6 separate regions of the Homo sapiens genome follow, and all the other regions are linked to region 1. Evidence: promoter capture Hi-C in 16 types of primary human blood cells and fetal thymus (Javierre and others, 2016). All regions are on one chromosome and are shown on one strand. The core of a region is centred on a gene start or on the middle of the fragment in contact, and the rest is flanking DNA. Distances in the headings are between cores, read along the strand shown.

The links. The method cuts DNA at HindIII sites, captures the fragments that hold promoters and counts their contacts. A CHiCAGO score of 5 or more calls a contact.
Region 2: a contact is called between a fragment that was not itself captured here and the fragment with the promoter of SMC3 in region 1, in 1 of 17 cell types (endothelial precursors). The highest score is 6.0, in endothelial precursors.
Region 3: a contact is called between a fragment that was not itself captured here and the fragment with the promoter of SMC3 in region 1, in 16 of 17 cell types (total B cells, M2 macrophages, naive B cells and 13 more). The highest score is 16.1, in total B cells.
Region 4: a fragment that was not itself captured here is called in contact with the fragment with the promoter of SMC3 in region 1 in 12 of 17 cell types (fetal thymus, megakaryocytes, M0 macrophages and 9 more); the score reaches 10.6 in fetal thymus.
Region 5: a contact is called between a fragment that was not itself captured here and the fragment with the promoter of SMC3 in region 1, in 7 of 17 cell types (total B cells, naive B cells, fetal thymus and 4 more). The highest score is 9.9, in total B cells.
Region 6: a fragment that was not itself captured here is called in contact with the fragment with the promoter of SMC3 in region 1 in 1 of 17 cell types (naive B cells); the score reaches 5.2 in naive B cells.

Annotation. Positions count from the first base shown.
Region 1 is chr10:110,565,585-110,569,129 of GRCh38, forward strand. SMC3 (structural maintenance of chromosomes 3) reads left to right here and starts at 2,111. Exons shown (of 29, transcript NM_005445.4): 1 at 2,111-2,247; 2 at 3,354-3,429. The coding sequence starts at 2,233. LOC105378483 (a long non-coding RNA gene) reads right to left here and starts at 1,724. Exons shown (of 2, transcript XR_946318.2): 1 at 1,449-1,724. RefSeq lists enhancers at 414-1,116, 1,931-1,980, 1,991-2,090 and a silencer at 2,431-2,720. The HindIII fragment of the contact is 2,181 bases long and covers 1,914-3,545 here.
Region 2 is chr10:110,409,547-110,413,694 of GRCh38, forward strand. No RefSeq gene overlaps it. Among named protein-coding and RNA genes, the nearest start is that of DUSP5-DT, 85 kb to the right of the region's middle. RefSeq lists an enhancer at 421-1,620. The HindIII fragment of the contact is 1,974 bases long and covers 1,640-3,613 here.
Region 3 is chr10:110,319,813-110,323,571 of GRCh38, forward strand. No RefSeq gene overlaps it. Among named protein-coding and RNA genes, the nearest start is that of SMNDC1, 17 kb to the left of the region's middle. The HindIII fragment of the contact is 2,437 bases long and covers 1,026-3,462 here.
Region 4 is chr10:110,342,255-110,346,346 of GRCh38, forward strand. No RefSeq gene overlaps it. Among named protein-coding and RNA genes, the nearest start is that of SMNDC1, 39 kb to the left of the region's middle. The HindIII fragment of the contact is 776 bases long and covers 2,382-3,157 here.
Region 5 is chr10:110,359,791-110,363,759 of GRCh38, forward strand. No RefSeq gene overlaps it. Among named protein-coding and RNA genes, the nearest start is that of SMNDC1, 57 kb to the left of the region's middle. The HindIII fragment of the contact is 176 bases long and covers 1,608-1,783 here.
Region 6 is chr10:110,380,320-110,384,208 of GRCh38, forward strand. No RefSeq gene overlaps it. Among named protein-coding and RNA genes, the nearest start is that of SMNDC1, 77 kb to the left of the region's middle. The HindIII fragment of the contact is 1,670 bases long and covers 1,003-2,672 here.

The DNA of each region.
Region 1 (3,545 bases), core at 861-3,360:
TCTTCATTTTATAGACTAGGAAGTGGAGGCTTAGAATTTTTTTTTTTGAGACAGAGTCTCGCTCCATCACCCAGGCTGGAGTGCAGTGTCAGTCTCGGCTCACTGCAACCTCTGCCTCCTGGGTTCAAGTGATTCTCCTGCCTCAGCTTCCTGAGTAGCTGAGATTACAGGCGTCTGCACCACGCCCAGCTAATTTTTGTATTTTTAGTAGAGACGGAGTTTTGCCATGCTGAGCCTCCACTTCCTAGTCTATAAAATGAAGATGATAAAACTCCATCATATTTAGAATTACAAACAGGATGTATAAGATAATCCTATCTGCCACGTTGGCCAGACTGTTCTGAAACTCCTGACCTCAAGTGATCCACCCACCTGGGCCTCCCAAAGTGCTGGGATTACAGGCGTGAACCACCATACCTGTCCTAAGCTTTAAATAATACAACTAAAATCTAGAAGTAAAATGTTTAGATTGAGTGCAGTGGCTCATTCCTGTAATCCCAGCATTTAGGGAGGCAGAGGTGGGAGGATCGCTTGAGGCCAGAAGTTAGAGACCAGCCTGGGCAACATAAGGAGACCTGGTCTCTACAAAAACAAAAAAAAGCTGGGCTTGGTGGCCACAGCCTGTAGGCTGAGGTGGGAGGATGGCTTGAACCCAGGAGTTTGAGGCTGCAGTGAACCATGACCGAGCCACTATGCTCCAGCTCCACCCTGGGTGACAGAGCAAGATCCTGTCAAAAAAAAAAAAAAAAGTTAGAAATAAAGAAAAGAAAATGCTTACATATTTATTTAATTTATTTTGAGACAGTCTCGCTCTGTTGCCCAGGCTGGAGTGCAGTGGCGCGATCTTGGCTCACTGCAACCTCTGCCTCCTGGATTCAAGCAATTCTCCTGCCCCAGCCTCCCGACTAACTGGGATTACAGGCACCCGCCACGACGCCCAGCTAATTTTTGTATTTCGAGTAGAGACGGGGGTTTCGCCATGCTGGCCAGGCTGGTCTTGAACTCGTGACCTCAGGTGATCCTCCCCCCTCAGCCTCCCAAAGTGCTGGGATTACACGCTTGAGCCACTCGACCAGGCCTATTTATTTTTTTAAACCAAGGGCTGGATAGGATTTGATCCGGGCTCCAGATAAAGGACTCCTAGGGAGATACCCTGGTTAGCAGAGGCAGTTAGGAGGCTACTAAAAATAGTTCAATCTAGAAATAATTAGGGCCAGAATTGTCTCCAGCAGCGGGCGGGGGTGGGGCTGGGGATGATTTGGGTAGTTATTTTGTTCTCTTCCCAGCAAGTAATTTCAGAGCAGCCCAGAGATTCATTTTCTAAACAAATGATGTTTTTCTCCCAAGACTGACAAGGATCAGACAGACCTAGGGTTGCCACTAGCACCTAGTATCTTTCAGGCTGTTTTCTTTTGTTTTTAAAGTGGATTAAAAGCTTTCAGCCTTACCTAAATCTTTGTTGCAATTGTACAGATCTGCCTAGATTTATAGCAGATGGTAGAACAGAAACAGTTCCCGACGGAATTAATCATCACATTATTAAAACAAATTTTCGAGCATTGACAAATCCCTTCGGGGTTGTCCTCCGAGTGGGCAATTCGTAACCAGCTTGGGGCGTGCTAAGATTGTAAACGTTCCTATGGAGAGCGATAACAAAGGGGCAGCAGTGACTCCGCACACAGAATTCCAAGAATCACCAGCATTCCATGTGTTCCAAGGCTAGCACAGTGCGCGCGAGGTCCGCTTTTTTAAACAGCGCGGAATCACGTGGCCGACAGCCCGCGGCGCTACTGGCCCTCGGAGTCTCCCTCTTGGCTTTGGCGCGGAACCTTTCCCCCTTTGTGGACGCGACCATTGGCCCCGCGCTCGGAGGTGGTACGGACCAACCCTACGGTCATAGATTTTCCGAGTGAAGCTTTTGACTAAGTCTCAGGAAAGCGTTAGCTACAGAATTCTAGATTCAAAAGAAATCCACCAAAAAACGCTGTGGAGGACTGGTTTTGCCTAAAAGAAAGAGCAGACCTGAACTTGACTCCTCCTACGCCCTGTGAAGGCTGCAAGGTGGTTCCGTCCGAGGCGCGGACTCCGCCCCCACGAGCGCCGCCATTTTGTTTGGCTGAGGGGAGCGAGCGGCGCTTTGGGGGAGGGGTCGCGTAGGCGCCTCACCTGACCCTGCGGCCGTGCGGTTGCTGCTCCGGGGCAGGTCTCCTTCCAGGCCAGGGGCCCGGAATCATGTACATAAAGCAGGTAAGGCCTTCGCGTCCCTCCACCCCGTCATGGGCCGGTAAGGGCCGCTCCTTGAGGCGGGAGTGTTGCGGCGCCACCCGCAGCCTCTCCCCTGTCTCCACAGGCTGGACCAGGGCTGGGCGGGGACTGTGGGGGAGGAGGGAGACCCGGGTCCCGCTAGTGCCCCGGCTGCGGGGTCGCGGAGAATTGGGGCACTCCTTTGCAGCCCCGGCCTCCCTGCTGGCGCTTGTCTGGGAGAGGCAGGATCTCCGAGAGGTGTGGAAGGGCCGGCGGGCGGGCCGCTGGGAGGGACTGGGCCTTCCTGGGTGGCCCCAGAGCTGGCGGGGGGCACCCCGCCGGGGCGGCCGCGGGCGGGAAGGGCTGTGTGGTCCTGCAGGGGTGGCCTCACACGGCCCATGTGCCTGGGATGTGTGGAAAGGTGGCTTCCCCGGCCCGGGGGCGGCCCTGGGGGCATTGGCTGGGGTGTCGTCACCTGTCACTGCGGGGAGCCGTTCTTCTCCCCAGTTAACCCGCGAAGTGAGCGGGACCCTCCTGCTTGCAGGATACGGAGCGCCGCCTCCCTCGGTTGTTTACTTCTGTCAAAATGGTCTTCCCGCGCGGGACTCCACCACAAAGATGAGCCCAGGCACACGGCCTTGGAGACGGTTTTCTGTTGGGTCTGTCGGGCTCTGAGCACTCCTTCTTTGGAACGTGGGTTCTTTCAGGCTGGCCGGCGTGAGTGACTGAAAGCAGCACTCGGTGGTCTTGGAGTCAGGAGAGCTGGGGCCCGTCGGCCTGCTTTTATAGACTTGCTATTGTACTGCAGCGTTTAGGGTTCAGTTAAGCTCACACAGTGTTTTTGATTTTGAAAGGTCCTTAACAGGTTGACAGCATAACTCCTAAAAAAAAATAAAACCCAGCAGCATTGCCTTGGCAAAGATTACCGATAAAAGTACCTTTTTTTTTTTTTAGCAGATTTTTAATCACCACTTTCCAAAATGAATTTTTCTTATATGAAATTTCGAGTTTTCTATATTGCATTAAATGAAAAACAAGAAAGAAATGCAAGAGAAAAATGTTAATTTTTTTTGTGGGGTGGGTTCTCAAAAATGTTTTTTATTTACTAGGTGATTATCCAGGGTTTTCGAAGTTACAGAGATCAAACAATTGTAGATCCCTTCAGTTCAAAACATAATGTGATTGGTAAGTGTTCTTGGTTTACTCGGTCATATTTATAGTCTATACAGATAATGTAAATTCTGTCCATTTCTATATTGGCTTAAGGAGACAGGAATTGTCTTTGAATATTAAGTTATATT
Region 2 (4,148 bases), core at 1,377-3,876, 160 kb before region 1:
GATCCTGCAATCAGTACCCTCTACCCCCCTGCCACAGTTATTGGTTAAGGGATGGGTACATGACCGAAGGCAGGCAAATCAGAGCCAATGAAACTCAGTTCCAGAACTTTTGAACTAGTTCTTTGCCCTGGTGAGAGGGTGTGAGGCCTGGAGCTTCTGCAGTCATCTTGCCCCCATGGGGTGGAACCAGCCAGTGATCGAGCTGTCACCTGGAGAAGAGCTGAGCCGAAAGATAACAGAGAACATGAAGTTTTGGTGACATTGTTTAGAGCCCCTGATTAAGTCTTGTCTGAAACCAGCCACACCCCTTGGACTTCCATTCTAAAGTCAGTAAATTCCGTTTTTGCATTAAGCAAAAAAAAAAAAAAAAAGAAAGAAAAGAAAGAAAAAAAAAATTTTTTTTTTCAGTCACATCCACCATTCCAGCAATACAGAGAATGAGACTCAGGCCCCTTGCTCCTTTGTACTCCATGCTTAACCTCTCACCAAACTTCCTCCTTAGAGGCCTATCTACCCTCATGCAAATTAACTCATACAAACAGATACCGAGGAGGCCCACTACTAACCCGTAAGTGCCTTTGCCTTTGTGCTATTTGGAACTGTTTGATCTATACAGAAAAATTTGTCCCAGATACAGTCCATACTTGGCTTGGTGAGGTAGGGGTGGGTGGGAGGAAAGAAAGGTGGGGAGAGAGAACAAGGCACAGCGGCCAACACTCGCTCTGCCCAAGCAGATGCTGAACCCCAAGTTCATCCTGTCACTCTGAAGGGATGGTGTCCACACCAGAATTGGCCTAGGGCTGGATGTGCAGTAGAACTCAAGAAAGGCTGCCTGCCTTGGTCTTTGGAATTCCTCCTACTGCTCCCAGTTAGAAGGATGAGTTAGAAGAAAGAAGAGACCGTCAATCAAGTTGCTGGGTTTCGTAAACTGGCCCCACTTCCCAGGAGGATTTATCCGTGAGCCAGAGGCACCTCATTTCTCACTGCACCCTTTGGCCTGGCTCCAGCCACACCCCCACCCGCAAATAAGTCCTTTTCCTTCCTAGAGCAGGAGCCAGAGAATGAGTCAGTACCTCATTCTCTTCATTCTTTCATCACTGGTCAGGCCTCACCCTTCCCTCGGCCATCCCCTCCTCTGGGCAACCATCTGGATCATGTGTGGGCAAGGCTGTTCCCATACAGCCAGCTTGGAGGGTCCTCTGTGTGAGACAGGAGTGGGCAGGGCTGACCTCTCAGCTCCTGGGGACTGGAGAGAGAGCTGGGGCCTCCAGGGATGGGCCGCAACTACTGGAGTCTCTCCCAGCCCCTAAAGAAGGGTATTTCCTGGGGCCCTGTCTTCCTCCTCGGGCATCAAGTTTATTTCTGTGTCTGTCCTAGCAAAGAGGAATGAAAACTCCTTTAGGGAGTCCCCGCCATGCCCCAGACCCCACCACGAACTCTGAATTCTCGTGGCAATCCTCTATGTGGCGACCATCAGCCACACTGGAATGGAGGGACAAGGCTGTCGGGAGGAGGCATTTCTCACGCCTGTGCCGTGAACGTGCTACCTCTGCATGCTCAAGCCCATGCTGCGCCACTCACAAGGGGCTGTAGCATTCTGGGCCAGCGCCCTTCTCTCTCTGCCTCCTCGCCTACAGCAAGCTTTCTTCAGGCCTGCGGCTGGTGGGCCCCAAGCCAAGAGTGGATTCTTTCATACTCTCTGGTCTAAATCAAGCTGCATCAGGTGGCACTCCCGGTGACCCTCCTGCCTTATTTGGAAGAAGAGGAGGAAGCCAGATAAGAAACCATCCAGGCACCATGGGCCCTTCTTATGGGTCACCCCACAGATGGCATCATTCTCCAGAGAGTGGGGAATATGAGCTCCGAGAGGCCCTGAGCAAGGTGTCAAAGGAAGAGAATAAAATGAAGGAGCTGCCTTATAGGGCCCTAGAGGAGGACAAATATTTGCAAGTGGTAGTCATTTTCTCCCTGCAATTAAAGGAATTCTCCACTTTAAAGCAAATGAAAATTAAAGGGAATGTGGGAGCCAGAGGGAGCCCCTGGGAATGTTACGGGGGGAGGGTAGTCTGTGAGGAGGGGTCTACTGGGCCTGTTCAGTCAGAGCCCCGTCTGGAGCAAAGGTTGACCTCAGGCTCTGTTCTGGGTCTCCACAGTATTAAATCACCAAAGGGAGAGCTTCAGAAGCCCCAGATAGCCCTGGTGTCTCCAAAGAACTAGAGAAAAGCAGCAGCCTTGGACCTTGGAGAATCTTCCAACATCACTTCCCAGCCCTGGTGTCTCCAAAGAACTAGAGAAAAGCAGCAGCCTTGGACCTTGGAGAATCTTCCAACATCACTTCCCAGCCCTGGCCACACATTAGAATCACCCAAAGAGCTTTTAAAAATATTCACTCCAAGGCCGGATGCGGTGGCTCACACCTGTAATCCCAGCACTTTCGGAGGCCAAGGTGGGAGGATCTCCTGAGGTCAGGAATTCGAGAACAGCCTGGCCAACATGGTGAAACCCTGTCTCTACTGAGCTGAGATCACACCACTGCACTCCAGCCTGGGTGACAGAGTGAGACTCTGTCTCAAAAAAAAATACCCCAGACCAAATGGATCATAATCTCTCTCAGAATGGGGGCTGGGCAGCTATTTTGTTTAATCTATTCACACGATACTACTGAGCTGTACTTCTCAAATTTCCCTTATGAGAAAAATCAGCTGGGGGGCACGTTTAAAAACGAAAAAGAAGGCCGGGTGCAGTGGCTCAAGCCTGTAATCCCAGCACTTTAGGAGGCCGAGGCAGGCGGATCACAAGGTCAGGAGTTGGAGACCAGCCAGCCTGGCCAACATGGTGAAACCTTGTCTCTACCAAAAATACAAAAATTAGCCGGGTGTGGTGGCACATGCCTGTAATATCCTAGCTACTGGGGAGGCTGAGGCAGGAGAATCGCTTGAACCCGGGAGGCAGAAGTTGCAGTGAGCCGAGATTGCACAACTACACTCCAGCCTAGGTGACTGAGCAAGACTCCATCTCAAAAAGAAAGAAAGAAAGAGTGAGAGAGAGAGAAAGAGAGAGAGAAAGAAAGAAAGAAAGAGAGAGAGAGAGAGAGAGAGAGAGAGAAAGAAAGAAAGAAAGAAAGAAAGAAAGAAAGAAAGAAAGAAAGAAAGAAGGAAGGAAAGAAAAGAAAGAAAGAAAGAAAAACAAAAACAAAAAGAATTATCAGGCTCCCAATCAAGCAAAGCCAGCAAATCAGAATATCTGGAGGTGACTGGTGAAAATCAGAACCTCTGGGGAATTAGGCCCAGGTCTTTTTTGCATTTCTACCAGGCTTCCCAGGGGACATCTATGCTGACAGAAATTGCAAAATCACATTCTAATCCTCTGGTCTTTGCCCCAGCTCGCTCAGCTGGTTGCCCCTTTGACCCTCGGGCCTCCCTAGAGGCCTTCTCTGTGAACACACCGTAGCATCTGTCTTCTTCCTAGCACTCATCAATATTTGTGATTGTATATTTATTTCTGTGTTTCTTTAATGCCAGTCTCCCACCTAGATGATAAACTCTGTAAGGGCAAGAACCAGGTCTGTTTGGTTCTGTGTAAGGTGGTGGTGAATTACCAGTGTAGGCTCTGAAGCTTGGACTGCCTGGCCTCATATCCCAGCTCCCCTACCCAGCTGTTCTTTGATCTTCAGCAAGTTGCTTCTCCTTCCTGTGCCTCAGTGTTCTCATCTGTAAAATGGATATTTGAATAGTAGTACCTGCCTCACATGGTTGATGGGAGGAATAAATGAAATTATATATGTAAAACATTTAGCATTGTCAATGGCACATTGGAAATTGTCAATAAACATTAATTATATCAATAACAAGCCACCACCACAACTTAATAGCTGAAAACTGCAACCATGTAATTGCTCACAATTCTGTGGGTTGACAGTTTGGTCAAGGCTCAGCAGGGTGGCTTGTTTCTGCTCCAGATGGTTTTGGCTGGGCTCACTCTTACATTTTTGGTCAAGTGGCTTGTTGACTGGGACTGCATAGTCTAACTTGATGGGCTGTTGGTGGAGGCTGTCAGTGAGGGAGGCTCAGTTCTCCTCCATGTGGCCTCTCCAGCAGACTAGCTGGGGCTTCCTCATGTGGTAGCTGGGTTCCAAGAGGGCGAGAGCA
Region 3 (3,759 bases), core at 994-3,493, 250 kb before region 1:
TATGGGGAAAAGCAAAGGAGAGCAAGGAGATAGGTAGTGCAAAGGAGGGAAGGAGTTGTATTTGTTTTATAGCAACGGTCAGGAAGGCCTCATTGAAAAGTTGACTTTGGGGCTGAGACCTGAAGGGAGTGAGAATTGTGAACCATGTGGATACCTGGTGGAAGATCATTCCATACAGGGGGAACAGCAAGTGGAAAGACCCTGAGGTGGGCATATTCCCGTTTTGAATATGTTGAATTTGAAAGGCCTATTATTTATTCAAGTGGAAATATCAAGGCAGTTGGAAATATATTCAGACTTGGGGAGGAGCAGGTTGGCGGGAGGTAGGAATGAGAGAGAGAACCAGGAGTTTAGTTAATTTGTGCTAGATGAAGCATATGTTGTCTATCAGTGATCAACACATAGCTATAAAGTGGGTACTTGAATCTATTCAATAAGTATTTATTAAACCCCTGGAATTCCATCTCTGTTAATAGCAGGTAGTTCATATTGGATCAGCCCTTCTGCAAATAACAATTATAAACTCTGGAGGAAAAAAATTGACCTAAAGGCATTACAGAGTGACCAAACTAGAAACCAGAGGATAATTTACAATTGGAAGAAGGAAATGGTGCTGGATGAGTTTGCTTTTTTTTTTTTTTTCCCTAATGAATTTTTGCCTGAGGAAAGGCCTCAGTCAGCTCTGTGATGGGATAGTTAGAATTTGGATAGAAATATACAATTTTGAGGAATTGGAAGTCAGACCTTGAGGTTATCACAGCTATTGCAACAACTGGGAAATTGTTGTGGTGGTGGGTATCCTAAAAAGGAGAGAGCCACAGAAGAGAAGCCAAAAATTCTGTGTATAAACTTTCCCCAAATCTCTGACTGTCCTCCAGATTATACACATAAAGGGCAGACCTCAAATAGCCTAGCTAATGACAAAAGAACTGAACGGACATTTTAACTCTTGCACATTATACGAGAGAAAGAGTTTGAAGTTTTAGTGTAGCCAAGTTAACTGTTTTGTAAAACAAAAAATTAAAAGCTTTCCAGAGGAACATAACAGAAACCATGGTCTCTATAATGTATAATTTACCATGTGCAGGTCACAATCCAAAATTACTGGACAATCGAAGAAAACAGAAAAACGTGGCCTATATTCAAAAGAAAAGGCAATCAATAGAGATTGAATCTAAGATGATGTAAAAGTTTGAATGAGGATACAATTATTTTAACTATTGTAAACTATTTTAACTCTGCTCAAGGACATAAACAAATATATGCTCATAATGAATGAACAGAGAGGAAACCTCAGCAGAGGGACAGAAACTACAAAAATGAACTAATAGAAGATTCTAGAAGTAAAAAATAACATCTAAAATTAAAAATTCACTCAATGCACTTGACAGAAGATTAGAAATGGCCGATCAAAATCAGTGAGCTTGAAGATAGACCAACAGACATTATCAGAACAGAAGATAAAAGAGAAAAAAAAGATTGAAGAAAAATTAAGAGCTTCAGTGACCTCTGGGTCAACACAGAAAATTCTAACATAAGCACACTTGTAATCCCTAATGAAGAGAAAATAATACAGAAAATGTATTAGAAAATAGTGGCTGAGATTGGGTGCAGTGGCTCATGCCTGTAATCCCAACACTTTGGGAGGCTAAGGCAGGAGGATTGCTTGAACCCAGGAGTTCAAGACCAGCCTGGTAAACATAGAGAGACCCCATCTCTATTAAATACAAATTTAAAAATTAGCCAAGTGTGGTGGTGCACGCCCGTAGTCTAAGCTACTCAGGAGGCTGAGACAAGAGGATCGCTTGAGCAGGAGGTTGAGGCTACAGTGAGTTATGATCACACCACTGCACTCCAGCCTGGGCAACAGAGTAAGACCCTTTCTCAAAAAACAAACAAACAAGCAAAAAAAGAAATTAGGCCAGGCACAGTGGCTAATGCCTGTAATCCCAGCACTTTGGAAGGCTGAGATGTGTGGATCACTTGGGGCCAGGAGTTTGGGACCAGTCTGGCCAACATGGTGAAACTCCATCTCTATTAAAAACTCAACATTTAGCTGGGTGTGATGGCATGCACCGGTAGTCCCAGCTATTTAGGAGGCTGAGGCAAGAAAGTTGCTTGACCCTGGGAGGCAGAAGTTGCAGTGAGCTGAGATTGCACCATCGCACTCCAGCCTGAATGACAGAGCAAGACTCTGTATCAAAAAAGAAAAAATAAGAAAATAGTGGCTGAAGTTTTTCCAAATTTGGTGAAAGACATAAAGTTACATATCCAAGAATCTTGGTAAACCCCAAGCAGGATAAATACAAAGAAAAGCATACTTTGGAACACTTTACTCAAACTGCTAAAAGTGAAAGAAGCCACAGACATTTTGCACACATGTCCAAAATGGAATTTATCCTCTTCCCTCCGAATTTGCTCCTCTTCTTATATTTACTTTTTCAGGAAATGATGCTACCTGCTGCCTTCTACAAGAGAGAACCCTGGAGTCCCTCTGAACTCATTCTTCTCCTTTCTTTTCTACTTCAGTGGGACACCAACTCCATCTACTATGTCATTACATAGCTCAAGCCTCTTTCCTTTCTCACAGCTGCTGTCTTAGTACAATTCCATATTTATAGCCTGGGAGTCTCCTAAATTGTCATCCTGATCTCTTCTCTTTCTGCTGCCGGAATGGTTATTTTAAGCCCGAATTCTGACCTTGTCACTTTCCAGTTTAAAATCTTCCAGTGATTTTCCATCCCTTTGGAAACAGAATTTCTATACCGTAGCATATTGCTTCAAGATCTGGGTCCTGATGTCATCTCTAGCCTTAGTTATGCCACTTGGAGGTCTCCAAATGAGCCACAGTGTCACACCTCTGTGGTTTGCCAATGTTGATCTTTTTTAGTGGAAGTTTATTCTCTTGTTTCTCAGGCTAATCTGTACTCATCCTTCAATCACCAACTCAAGGGTCATCTTCTCTTGGAAAACGTCCCTGACCCCTTTCCCTAGGTGGAACTGGATGCCCCCTGCTCATCCTGCGTAGTGCTGTGGTATCTGTGCTCCTTTACCTCTATTATATCTGGTGTTCCATTGTACTCTTGCCATTGATTTTCCTTTAGCATCAGGTCTTATTCATCTGTAGATCTCCAGAACATGGCAAATAGCTGGGGCTGAGTGTTTGTTGAATGAGCAAATGGCTGAGTGAAACAAGAGTTTGAATTGATTCCCTATATGGAGCCTATCTGTTTCTCAGGCAGTAAGTTCTTCTTTTGCCATGATAAACCTCCCCAAATAAGATTATCCAGGTGAGAAAACCAGCAAAGAACCTGAGGCAAAGGCCCAAGGAGGGGAACTTTGTACACGTGCTTACATAATGGACAGTGAGGCAACTGAGCTTATTTTTCCACCAAGGAGATGCGTTGGGCTAAGCAATTCATGTGTAACTTTGGTCACTAGCACATGAGTAGACCAACAATAAGCTTAAACTAGGAGAGTGATCTTTTTCAATGAAACCGTTTTGGACTCTTTTCTGCTGTAGGTGAGAGACTACCCTTCTTTGCTTTTTATACCACTTTTTGTGGACTAGTACTCATGTCCATCACTCATATCCCTAGGATTCTTCCTTCTAACTCTTAAGCCACTCATTTGCCAAAACAAAGCCCAAATTTCTCCAAAATATTGTCTTTTGTTTGCAGTCATTTTCAGCTCATCAGCATTATTGATTTTATGTCCACTCTGAAGGGAAGGCCACAGAGTTGACACCCAGGAAAATGA
Region 4 (4,092 bases), core at 1,520-4,019, 220 kb before region 1:
AGGGACAGATTCTCCATGAATGCAGTCACGTCTTAGTGCTGGGGTTATTCCTGTCTGCAGAGCTTGCCCCTGCTTGGTGCCCAGACATCATAAGGGGTAAGAAAGGACCCCTGAAGAAGTTTTGGGTGGGAAGATCCCCCAGGCTCCCTACCACAAGCTTTGGCCCCTGGTAATTGCTGGGATGCTGTCCAGAGTATTTGGCCTGCTGGTTCATGAACCACAGGTGCTTGTTCAGGTTGAGTCCGGCAGCCCTTCTGCTCCTTGTAGGCTGGGTACCCACTTTTCTCCAAGTATTTCTCTATCTCCTGCTGTGATTCCCTGCTAGGACTCTGTGTTCCTGGTGCCACCTCCTCAAGGACTAAGGATGGTGTGAGGCCCTTGAGATTCTTAAGTTTTTGCCTCCTTCATTCCTTTGTTCCCTCCCCAAGAGCTTAATACATTTTTTGGTGTGTGTCATCTAAAATTTTCAAGCCATATACTTGTCCAAAAATAAGGCCTCCCAGAAGCATTAGACCATGAGGCAGTCATGGCCTTGGCCCCTGTGAAGATAGCCTGGATTGATGACTGAATAGAAGACACTTGATGAAAATGTTAAGACATTGAATAAATGCACACAGAGAATACCAAGGACCTCCCCTTTCCTCCTGAAAATAACCGGCTGCCTCTTTTCCTTCCCATTTGCAGGTCCCTGCAGCCCCACTGCTTAACCACATCTTTCAGCTTTCCCCGACCCTCCCCAAATAGATTTCATTTACATTTTGCCTAATTGCTCCAATAGCTTTTGTGGCATTTTCCTTCTAGGAGCACTCAAAATGGACTCCCAGTCGGCAACCCTGCCCCCTAAAAATCAGCATCCAGGTAGAACAAGCCCCAGCCCCAGCTTCTGGAAGGAGTGAAGTCACAGGGTTAAAAGCCCAGACACTCCTTAAAAGCTTTGTGATGTCTTCACACTAAAAATGTGTATTTTTTAAGTGGTTAGTTGTATTTCTTTTTGAAAAAAATTAGTTCATCTAATTATAAAATAGGTAAAACATGTACATTTACAAAATTGAAAAGGTAGAAAGAGGTACACGGTGAAAAATGAAGTCTCTTTGCTCTCACCCCTGTCTGCAGACTCCCAAGCGCCCTCTCCAGAGGTACCACTGTCACCAGTTTGTGCCAGAGACAGTCGATGTGTGTGTAAGATTATATGTACATAGACTTTCTCTTTCCTAAAATTACAAGCAATAGCATACCACACAGTGTTTGCTTTTTCACTTAGAACTATTTCTTGGCAATTGTATCATACAAGGACATTTTGCTCTGCCTCATTAAAGGCTTCATACTACTCTACTCCATAGAGGTGCCAATGGATGGACATTTAAGATATTTTAATAAGGTTTGGCTATTATAAATAAGACTGCAGTAAGTAAGAACCTCTCTGTTTCAATCGTTCTTCTCCAGACTCAGTCTCCTAGGGGTAATCTTTTAAATGTTTAAGAGAATGTAGACAAGGGAATGGTCTTCTTTGGTGCCTGCTGGGAAATTAGGACTCCTCTGTCTAGTACTGCGTCACCTTGGGAGAGTTGCTTATCACATGGAGGTAAAGTGGGTAAACTCTCCTAAGAGGGGTCTGGATGAAAAGCAATAACACATTGGTTAAAATGCTTTAAGAAGTTGAATGCATTTTACAGATATAATAAGGTATGACTATAGACTAATGGGACAGATTTTACCAGAATCATATACTAGAACCAGCCACGTTGCTTTACATTGGATAGATGATACTCGGAAGACAGTTCAGACTGACTTAGGAAAAAACCGGAAATTTATTCTCTTGTGTAGCATAGAAGCCCATGGAGTAGGGCTGTCTTTAGGTATGGCTGGATTCCAATGCTCAGATGACGTCACTAGGATTCAATTTCTCTGTCTTTGGCTCTGCCTTTACATGTATTGACTCCATTTTCATATGTACCCCCTTGTGTGGAGAGGATGGTCATAGCAGCCCAAGTGTCATGTCCTCCCTGGTGTTACTGGCTGCAGTTGAGTCTCCTCGACTCTTATTGACCAGAATTAGGTCAAGTGGCTGTCCCTCAATCAATCAGAGAATGTGGTCATCTGGTTGTGCCAGCCTCGGCATAATGCCTTTTCTAAGACTCAGCGCAGAGTCAACTCCACTGGAATCCAATGAACTAAGGGGGAAAGAGTGGTATCTGAACAAACACCCAGTGCTCTCGGGCTTTACAGGGATGGACGCTGGGCTCTTTTCTTTATCTGTTTGTGTTGCTATAAAGGAATACCCGAAGCTGGGTAATTTATAAAGAAAAGAGGTTTAATTGGATCATGGTTGTGCAGGCTGCAAGGAGCATGGCATTGATATCTGCTTCTGGTGAGCTTCAGGAAGCTTCCACTCATGGCAGAAGGTGAAAGAGAACAGGCATCACATGGTGAGAGAGAAGGAAAGAGAGAGGAGAGGGGTGCCAGCTCTTGAGTGAACTAACAGAATGAGAACCCAATTACCACAGGGAAGGCATCAAGCCTTTCATGAGAGATCCTCCCCCATGACCCAAACACCTGCCACCAGCCCTACTGCCAACTTCGAGGATCAAATTTCAACATGAGATTTGAGGGGAGAGATATTCAAACTATATCGGCCATCAGGAAGCCACAAATATTCACTACCTTTTGGGGATTTGCTGTTCACAAGCCTGTCATTTCAAAATTCTGGCTCAGACAGCTGAATTCCTTTCAAGGAATAGCTCTGCATTAGGTTTTAGGAGGTAGTGGAAATAAGCAATTAAAGGCATGCATGTGGCAAAAGAAGTGTTTACATGTTGAAATAGCCTTTAAAAATATTTCTTCCTTTATAAGATAGAAGAAGACTTCCTCCTGTCAAGTAAAGACGTTTGCCCTACAAAGGTCTGGCAAAACAAATTTAGTTCTTCATCTGCATTGCAGGAAAAACAAAACCACGAAGGCTGGCATGTTCCTTCTGCACAACTGGGAAGACATTAGGTGCTGGAAACCCCCAACACATTTAAGGACATTTAAATCTACAAAGAGGGAAGAAAATAATTGTTTTGGCCAAATACATGATGGTTATTAAGATAAGCTCAGCCATGTTTTTTTCAGTTACACAGGGAAGGTGGAGGAGGTCCCTAAAAATCTCCCTACCTCAAGCTTTGAAAGAGACAACAATGGAATGCAAATGACCCAAAATTACGCTAGGAAATTCATGTTGAAATAACCTATGAGGGTGTCAGCCCTCTAATCTTATTTTCTTGGTTTCGGTATCTGCTTCCATTCCTTTCTGCATCTTCCTTCTGTTTATTTCCCCAACTCCATCCTACCCTCAAGTCTCACGTCATGGGAGCTTGCCAGTCTCACTGAGCACAGGGAACCAGCAGTGCTTGTAGCCGGCAGACAGGCCTTCCTGAGTGGGGAATGGCTGTGGGGGGCCCTGTTTCCATTTCACCATTCATGTTAATCAGCAGTTACTATCTTGTCCTCAACTCTGCTTTTGGGGAGAGTGGAGTGACTCCTGGGGACAGGTGAGTTACAGGAGGCAAGCTGGAGGAACCACAAGGAACATGGGTAGAGAGCTGTCCATCTGACAGCCAAAGGGGCCTGCTCTCTCTCGCATTCTCTCTCTTTCACTCTCTCACTCTCTCTATTGCAGGAGGGGAAAGGGAGAGCTTTATTCTCTATGAAGAACAGTCTGCAGACTGGGGAGACAAAGCCTTTAGTATAAGTGAAAGTGTGCTCTCCACAGAGGGGCTCTTTTGACTCTTTTTCTGGCTCTGTGGCCAAGGAGCTCCCAGCTCTCCCCGTTCCCCCAAAACTCTTTGTTTCCAGGCAACTTGTTCCCCTGCAGTCAGGGACCCAAAACTGTTGGCTGGCAGACTTTGCTTTATTTGGCCAGCAACAGGTTTGAACATATTTTAAATTTAAATGCCTTTGGGCATAGTGTGTGTGTGTGTGTGTGTGTGTGTGTGTGTGTGTGTGTGTGTGTGTATGTATGTGTATCCTTCAGTTTTCCACAGTCTCCACCACTCCCTATTGCCTTTTACAGGCCTGCTCCACTCTGTCTTATCTGCCTAGCCCATGAGTTTG
Region 5 (3,969 bases), core at 446-2,945, 210 kb before region 1:
TCTAACCACTGGGTTCCACTGCCTCATGGAAATGGAGTGAAGCTGATCCTAAGCCCACACAGTGATTTAGAGCAGCAGGTTTAATCTGTACAAATGACTGATTGTATTTGAGTGTGGTTGCCAGTAACCAGCAGAAGGATTCTCCTCCACCCGGGTTCCAGGTAGAAAACCAAATGGGGGCCGGGCGCGGTGGTTCACGCCTGTAATCCCAGCACTTTGGGAGGCCAAGGCGGGCGGATCACGAGGTCAGGAGATCGAGACCGTCCTCGCTAACACGGTGAAACCCCGTCTCTACTAAAAATACAAAAAATTAGCCGGGCGTGGTGGCAGGCTCCTGCAGTCCCAGCTACTCGGGAGGCTGAGGCAGGAGAATGGAGGGAACACGGGAAGCAGAGCTTGCAGTGAGCCAAGCCACTGCACTCCAGCCTGGGCGACAAAGTGAGACTCCATCTCAAAAAAGAAAAGAAAAGAAAAGAAAAGAAAAGAAAACCTTATGGGAAGGAATGGGCCACTCCTTGCCTGCCCCTCCCAGCCTCTCCATTCCAACCCACTTTCCTCTCCCACATTTTCTTTCTTTCTTTCTTTCTTTCTTTCTTTCTTTCTTTCTTTCTTTCTTTCTTTCTTTCTTTTCTTTTCTTTTCTTTTCTTTTCTTTTCTTTTTTTGGAGACAGTCTCGCTTTGCTGCCCAGGCTGGAGTTGAGTGGTGCGAACTTGACTCGTTGTAACCTCCACCTCCCAGGTTCAAGCTATTCTCCTGCCTCAGCCTCCCAAGTAGCTGGGACTACAGGTGTGCACCACAATGCCTGGCTAATTTTGTATTTTTAGTGGAGATGGAGTTTCACCATGTTGGCCAGGCTGTTCTCCAACTCCTGACCTCAGGTGATCTGCCCACCTCGGCCTCCCAAAGTGTTGGCATCACAGGCATGAGCAACCTCGCCCAGCCCCCTCTCCCACATTTTCAAACCACCCTCCCACCATCCTCTGATGTCTACAAGAAAAAAGGAGAGAGATTTTTTAGCATGATATCAGTTTCTATCCATCATTCACTGAATTCTCATTCCAGCCCTTGGAGGTTGGGTGTCATTTTTACCATTTTACAGATGGAGAAGCTGAGGCTCTGAGAAGGCAAGCAACTTGTTCAAGATCACCTCATTGGCAGAACTGGGCTTGATACAAAGCTAAACCTGAAGCAGAGCCTGTACTTGGTCTGCCACACTGCAAAAAAATGGGAGAAACCCTCCTCAGTATTGGAAACGACTTCAGAACCTTGGAGAGCAAGGCTGAGCTTGACTGGGAAAGAAGGGATAGTTTGGAAGAAGAGATGTGTCCTCTTCTGTCAGAGCTCAGCCCCAACCTGCCCTGGTAAGGTCATGCCCCTGCCATGGTCAGCCCCCTGCTAAGGAGAAATAGGATGCTGGCCCTCCAGTAGACAAGTGTCTGTGGGGTGAGTCACCCATTATCCCCCTCCCGTGTGACACACTTAGTACAAGGCATTGGGAAGTATCAGACCAAGAGAATAGACTTCAAGATGCCACGTGCCCACAGGCCTGGGAATGCTTGGCTTCCTGTGACCTTGGATTGCACACGCATTCAAGAGGCTCCCAAGAAGCTTACCCAGCCAGAGGTTCCCACGCCAAGGAGTTGGGCTGGACTCTGTGACCTCTCTTTGCCTTGCCTGGGGCCACCCAGATCATTAGACCATAGGCACTAATGCACCTGCCTGCTGCCTCTTACTGTAGAAAAAGAGATGAGTAGAGGCAAGTGGATTCCTTGGCGCTTGGGAAGCTTCAAGGTGGTGCACATAGTCTTGGAGCCAGGTAACCCTGGGTTAAATCCCAGTGCCTCCTCTAATTAGTCAGACAACCCTGCACAAGTTAGGTTACCTTGCTAAGCCTCAGTGTTCACATTTGTAAAAAAAGTGCCAATCATGCTTTTCCACAGTTTGGATTGAATCAGAAAACTTAAATAACCATCTATCCCCAAAACAGCTGACACATAATAAGGGATATTTAAGTTAAAACTTTTCATTTTTATTAAAATATTAAACATCTTCAAAATTCACATAGAAAGAAGAGCACTAGAATAATTGCAAATGATGGAGCAACCAAAGCCACCAATGATTGAAATGTTCTCTGTGACTAAAGGATGGTTATTTATTCTGAAAGTAAGAGTACGATGATATCAGGAGAGGAAAGGGGGTGGAGCTCATCTTAAGTGCTGTGCTTGCACTGTAGTGTGTGTGTGAGAGAGAGAGTGCATGTGTATGTGTGTTTGTGTGTATGTGTATGTGAGTAAGAGACAGAGAGAGAAGGGTGGGGGGACACACTTTCAACAGACTAAAATCTAATCCCTACCCTCAGGAATTTACACATAACTGGAATATTTTTAAAAGTGTCAAAATTGACATCTGTGAGCTACAAAGTGCTACAGGAATATAAAGGCAGGAGAGTTCGCTTCCAGCGCAGCTGGGGTTCTGAGTGGTATGTGACACTTCCTGGAGGAATGCTATTTGAGGTAACTGAAGCGAGGGTGAGATTTCAACAGGTACTAATGGGGATAGGGTGGAAAAGAGAATTGTTGAGAAAAGCCACGAAACAGAGAAAGCAGGGTGTGCCCTGTGAATCTGAGGTAATATGAAAAAAATACCAAATACCAAAATATTCTTACCCTTGGATGGTGGGATGATACCTGATTGATTTTAGTGTGTGTGTCTTTCTGAATTTTCTATTCTTTAAAATGAGTTTGGGCCTGTAATCCCAGCACTTTGGGAGGCCGTGGTGGGCGGATCACGAGGTCAGGAGATTAAGACCATCCTCGCTAACACGGTGAAACCCCGTCCCTATGAAAAACGCAAAAAAATTAGCCAGCCGTGGTGGCGGGCGCCTGTAGTCGCAGCTACTCGGGAGGCTGAGGCAGAAGAATGGCGTGAACCCGGGAGGCAGAGCTTGCAGTGAGCAGATATCGCGCCACTGCACTCCAGCCTGGGCGACAGAGCGAGACTCCATCTCAAAAAAAAAAAAAAATGAGTTGGGTAATTTGTATACTCAAGAAAAAAAATCATATTTTTAAAACCAACATCAGTAACAAAATCAGCAAAAAAAAAAATAGTGCTTTTGTGACTGAAGGTAAGAAAGCAAGAATGTTTAAAATTCTAGAGAATACTGGCAGTAGAGAAGGGGGCTTGTGTCTAACTGGGCTCTCTACCGCAGCACTGTTGAGATTTTGGACTGGATCATTCTCTGTTGTGGGAGCTGCCCTGTGTATTGTAGTATTCTAGTCTCTGCTAGATGCCAGTGGAATTTTTCCCCTTCTCTCCTCGGCCACCCCAACTATGACAACCAAATATGTCCCCTAAGGGATGAAATTGCCCTGGGGTGGATAGAACTACTATTCTAAACCCTGGAATATTTGATGTGAAGGAAAAGTCACCCCTACATACTTCTCTGCATGCACAGAGAGTGTAATCCCGTCACTGTGCCTTGGCTCTCTTAAAAAGTTTCCCTCTTTCATCCAATCCCACCCAAATCCAGGAGGTAGAAGGTCTGAATGCTGGGTCCCAAGTCTTAACACTAGTTAGCTACATGATCTTGGGTTAGTTGAATGGCCACTCTGGGCCTGCTTACTTATCTATAAAAATGACAGGTAGATGAGAAGTGCTCAAAGATTCTGTGAATCCGTGTGTCAATGCCAACCCCTTATTTTGTACAGGAAGAAAATGACATTTGGAAATGTGTAGTTTTGCCCAAGGTTACACACCTCACCAATGGCAGCACCACGACTAAAACCCAGCACCAAGACTAAATGCCATGACTTTTGATTTCTACTTGTGCCCCTCCACCCCACACTCTTTGTCACCTGTCTCCTTAGAAGCATGGCTTCCTTGTGTCAAAAAGGAAGAAAACAAGAGTGACTGGGCCAGGCCACTTACATGCGCTATTTGGTGAGCAAGACAACAGAGAAACCTCCTCT
Region 6 (3,889 bases), core at 588-3,087, 190 kb before region 1:
TAGATATGTGTGTTAACATAGAAATTGAATAAATTGGTATTTCAAATATCAATCCCTGTATTTTTTCCATCATGAAAATGAAATACATTTTTAATGTAAAGTTTTGGGTTTTGTTTCTTTTTAGAACTTTCACTTATTTGTAACTTTCATTTCTTATTTTTTGTAACTTTCATTTTTAAAAAATTAACTGCTTTGCATTTCCCCTTGTGGAAAAAAAGAAAAACTACTCAAAATAGCTTTCCCTTTATGAAGTGAATGTACTCCATTTATTTTTATGGCTGAAAAATATTCTATTGCATGAATATACTATGTTTTATTATTCCATTTGTCAATTAATGGACATTTGATTGTTTCCATTTTGGGGCTATTCTGAATACTGCTGCTACGAACATTTGTGTACAGATTTTTGTGTGGACACATGCTTTAATGCTTTTGGGCCTATATGTAGGAGTGGTATTGCTGGGTTACATGAAAACTCTGTGTTTAACCTTTTGAGGAACTGTTGAAAGTGGCTGTACCACTCTACATGCCCCCCCAGCAGTGTATGAAGATTCCAATTTCCCTACACCCTTTCCGTCACTTGTTATTATCTGTCTTTTTGATTAGAGTCATCTTAGTGGTTTGAAGCAATATCTCATTGTGGCTGGATTTGCATTTCTGTAATGACAAATAATGTTGATCATTTTTTAATGTGCTTATTGGCCACTTGTGTGTCTTCTTTGGAGGAATTTCTATTCAAATCCTTTGTCCATTTTTAATTTTTTTAATTGTTGACTTGCGTGTGTACATATTTCCACTAGTGCATTTCCCACACTGTTCTGTCGCCTATGCTTTATGTGTCTGAGTTTCCTATTAGACTGTGGCCAGATGTGGGCAGGGTCTGGGTCAGACTTGAACCCAGGCCCTTCTCATGGGCACAGTGCAGAGCATGCAGTAGGCACCTGGTAAATGCATCAAGACTGGAGACCCAAACTCTCTGGGGAGCCCTTGTGCTCTCCTCCAAGCTTCTTTCTTCTCAAAGTCCCTGCATTTCTAGATTCCTTATATATGGAAGCCCGTGGTGGGTCTGGGTCCTCTCTGGGGAAGCAGGGGTTGAGCTGAGAGGTCTCAATTCTGGAACATACTGCCTCACTGCCTAGGTAAGGGCCCCGCTCCACACTCAGCCTTGCCTCTGTGCCTATTCTCTTTTCTTGTTTCTCTTTTTGTGTTGGTGGAGGTGATGGGGGAGAAGAAATGATTGCTTTTGAGCCAGGGTTGATGCAGCCCTGGTTGAATTTTTAAATAAAAGGAAAATCTCCATCTCTTAGTTTGTGCCACATGAATCCCAAGATGCATTTGTCTTGTAGCCACATTTAGTGAATCTGCTAACTCTACCTTGGCTAGGGTTCTGGAGACCTTCTGTTTGCTGCCACCCACTCCATCCACTCTCTCCCCTCCTCTGTGCCCAGAAGCTGACATTGGTGTGTTATATCAGTGGGTTCCTTTGGGCTCTGGCTTCCAGCTGGATTTGACCAGTGGGACACTGGCTGGAAACTGGACAGACATGGAGGTGAGCAGTTAGAGGTGTTTATTCCCTTCTTGCTGAGCTGTGTCTATGTCTGTCCACTGAAGGCCACAGCTCCTGCTAGGGAGCCTCTCCACATAGCCCCTGTCTCAGGTTCGGGCCCAAGAGTGCTGTCCACACAGCTGGCATGAGCTGAGGGTACACTGCTCTCCACTTGGGCTTGCCCAGACCCTGCTAATACTTCTGTGCAGTGTCCCTTTATTCACTTTCCTGAGAATACCCAGTTTGAGTGTGCTTCATTTCCTACAGGACCCTGGCTGATATAGCTGGGGACTGTCAAATGTGATGGCAGAGAGCCAGGTATTGGTCTCGGACTGCCACACATTAGCTGCATTAACTTGGGCAAGTCATGTAAGCTATCAAGCCTCAACTTTCTCATCTGCAACGTGGACACAATACCAGTTCTTCCTTCACAGAGCTGACGTGAGAAGGAAGTGAGGCTGTGACTGTCAGCGCAGCAACTGGCACATACTAAGGCCCCCTTCAATAGTGGATGCTATCGTTAGAAGGACTAGAGCTTTGGCTGTTGGAGGAGAGTGATTTACTCTTTGTCCTTGCCTACTTGCTCCCATTTCACTTGAGATGAACAGCTGAAGAGCACTTGCAGGAACTCAAGGTTGAAACAGGAGTAAAATAGCACCTGATCCACACTGGGAAGATTGTGGAAGGACACAGGAGTCTAAGAGAAGATCTTCTCACCTTTAGGGAATTGGCCACACACTGGAGAAGTCAAGACAGACCCACAGGGGAACTGGGCATGAGAGGGTCTACTGAGCCTGGATAACTAGAGTCGTAGCCACTCAGACACTTGAGCCTCCTGCCGTGTGGCAGGGGTTTGGATGTATTCTCCATAGTTCAGGGGACAGAGGTGGCATCAGGAAATGAATGTTCCTCCCAACTCTAGATCCTGTGAAACTCCCATTTGATAACAAGTGAGCCTCCTTCTGGTTTATCTCGGAGGCTTTCTGGGCTATAACAGGAAGAGTGTCGGCCTTGGGGGCTGCAGAGACCTGAGTGTGACCTTGTGTTGCTCGCTGGCTGGGGACCAGGGCGAGACACATGACCTCTTTGGGCCTCCATGTCCTCATCTGTGTTGAGCACACAGAGAAGCTTTATCAAAGGGGATAGTGGCCATTCAGACTTTTAAAAAGAAAATAAACTAAGTATATAAGGCAAGGAGGAAAAGAGCTCTGGGTGGTCCCATGAGGGATCAGAGCCAGGGAGTTGTGAGCTGGGCTGAGCGTTGAAGGCCAGTGGATCTAATCAAATGTCTGGAGATGGGGAATGTGTCAGGCTAAGGGTCTCAGGGAACCTGGGTGAGAGGCCACCCTCAGTGGGTAGAGTACAGGTCATAGAGAACGACATTAGAGAGACTGGTTGTATCTGACACCCCTCACCCTGGCTTTCCTCCTGGGGCTTAGGGCTGGGGCAAGGGGCAGGCATAGGTGAGCAGACAGGTGGGTAAGTAAATGCTGGGGCCTAATGCCAATAACCGGGGGGAGGGTTCCACACACCCGGGCCTGCCTTCATTTGCTCAACAACATTCAAGGAGCATTTGTTATTGCCCGTGACATTCCAGACCTGTGTCAGATGTGGGGACATGGCAGGAAAGTGATCCAAGTGCTGGTCTCAAGGAGGTCACAGTCTTAGATGCCTTACTTAGTTACGCCAGGTCCATCTGAAGGCCCACAGCTCTCTTATGAGCTCTGTGATCTGGGGCAAATGAGTTGTGTTTTTTGGACATTTCCCTCATCTGAGCGGATAGGGACACCAGTTCCATGCAGGGTTGATTGGAGGAATAACAACATGTGAGATTATGACACAAAAAATTTAGCATTCCCCGGCCGGGCGCTGTGGTTCACGCCTGTAATCCCAGCACTTTGGGAGGCCGAGGTGGGCAGATCGTGAGGTCAGGAGATGGAGTCCATCCTGGCTTACAAGGTGAAACCCCGTCTCTACTAAAAATACAAAAAGTTAGCTGGGTGTGGTGGCAGCCGCCTATAGTCCCAGCTACTCGGGAAGCTGAGGCAGGAGAATGGTGTGAACCCAGGAGGCAGAGCTTGTAGTGATCAGAGATTGTGCCACTGCACTCCAGCCTGGGTGACAGAGCGAGACTCTGTCTCAAAAAAAAAAAAAAAAAAAAAAAATTTAGCATTCCCCAAGTGCCAGTACATGGCAGCTATTTGATTGACATGCATTCAGGTACACTTGTAACCTTAATAAGTAAATGAAAGTTTTCCTAGAGAACCACTTCTACATGTGTGCAAAGAGGCATTTATGCTGAATGGTCTGTAACAGGCAAATACTGAAAATAGTGTCGAGTGT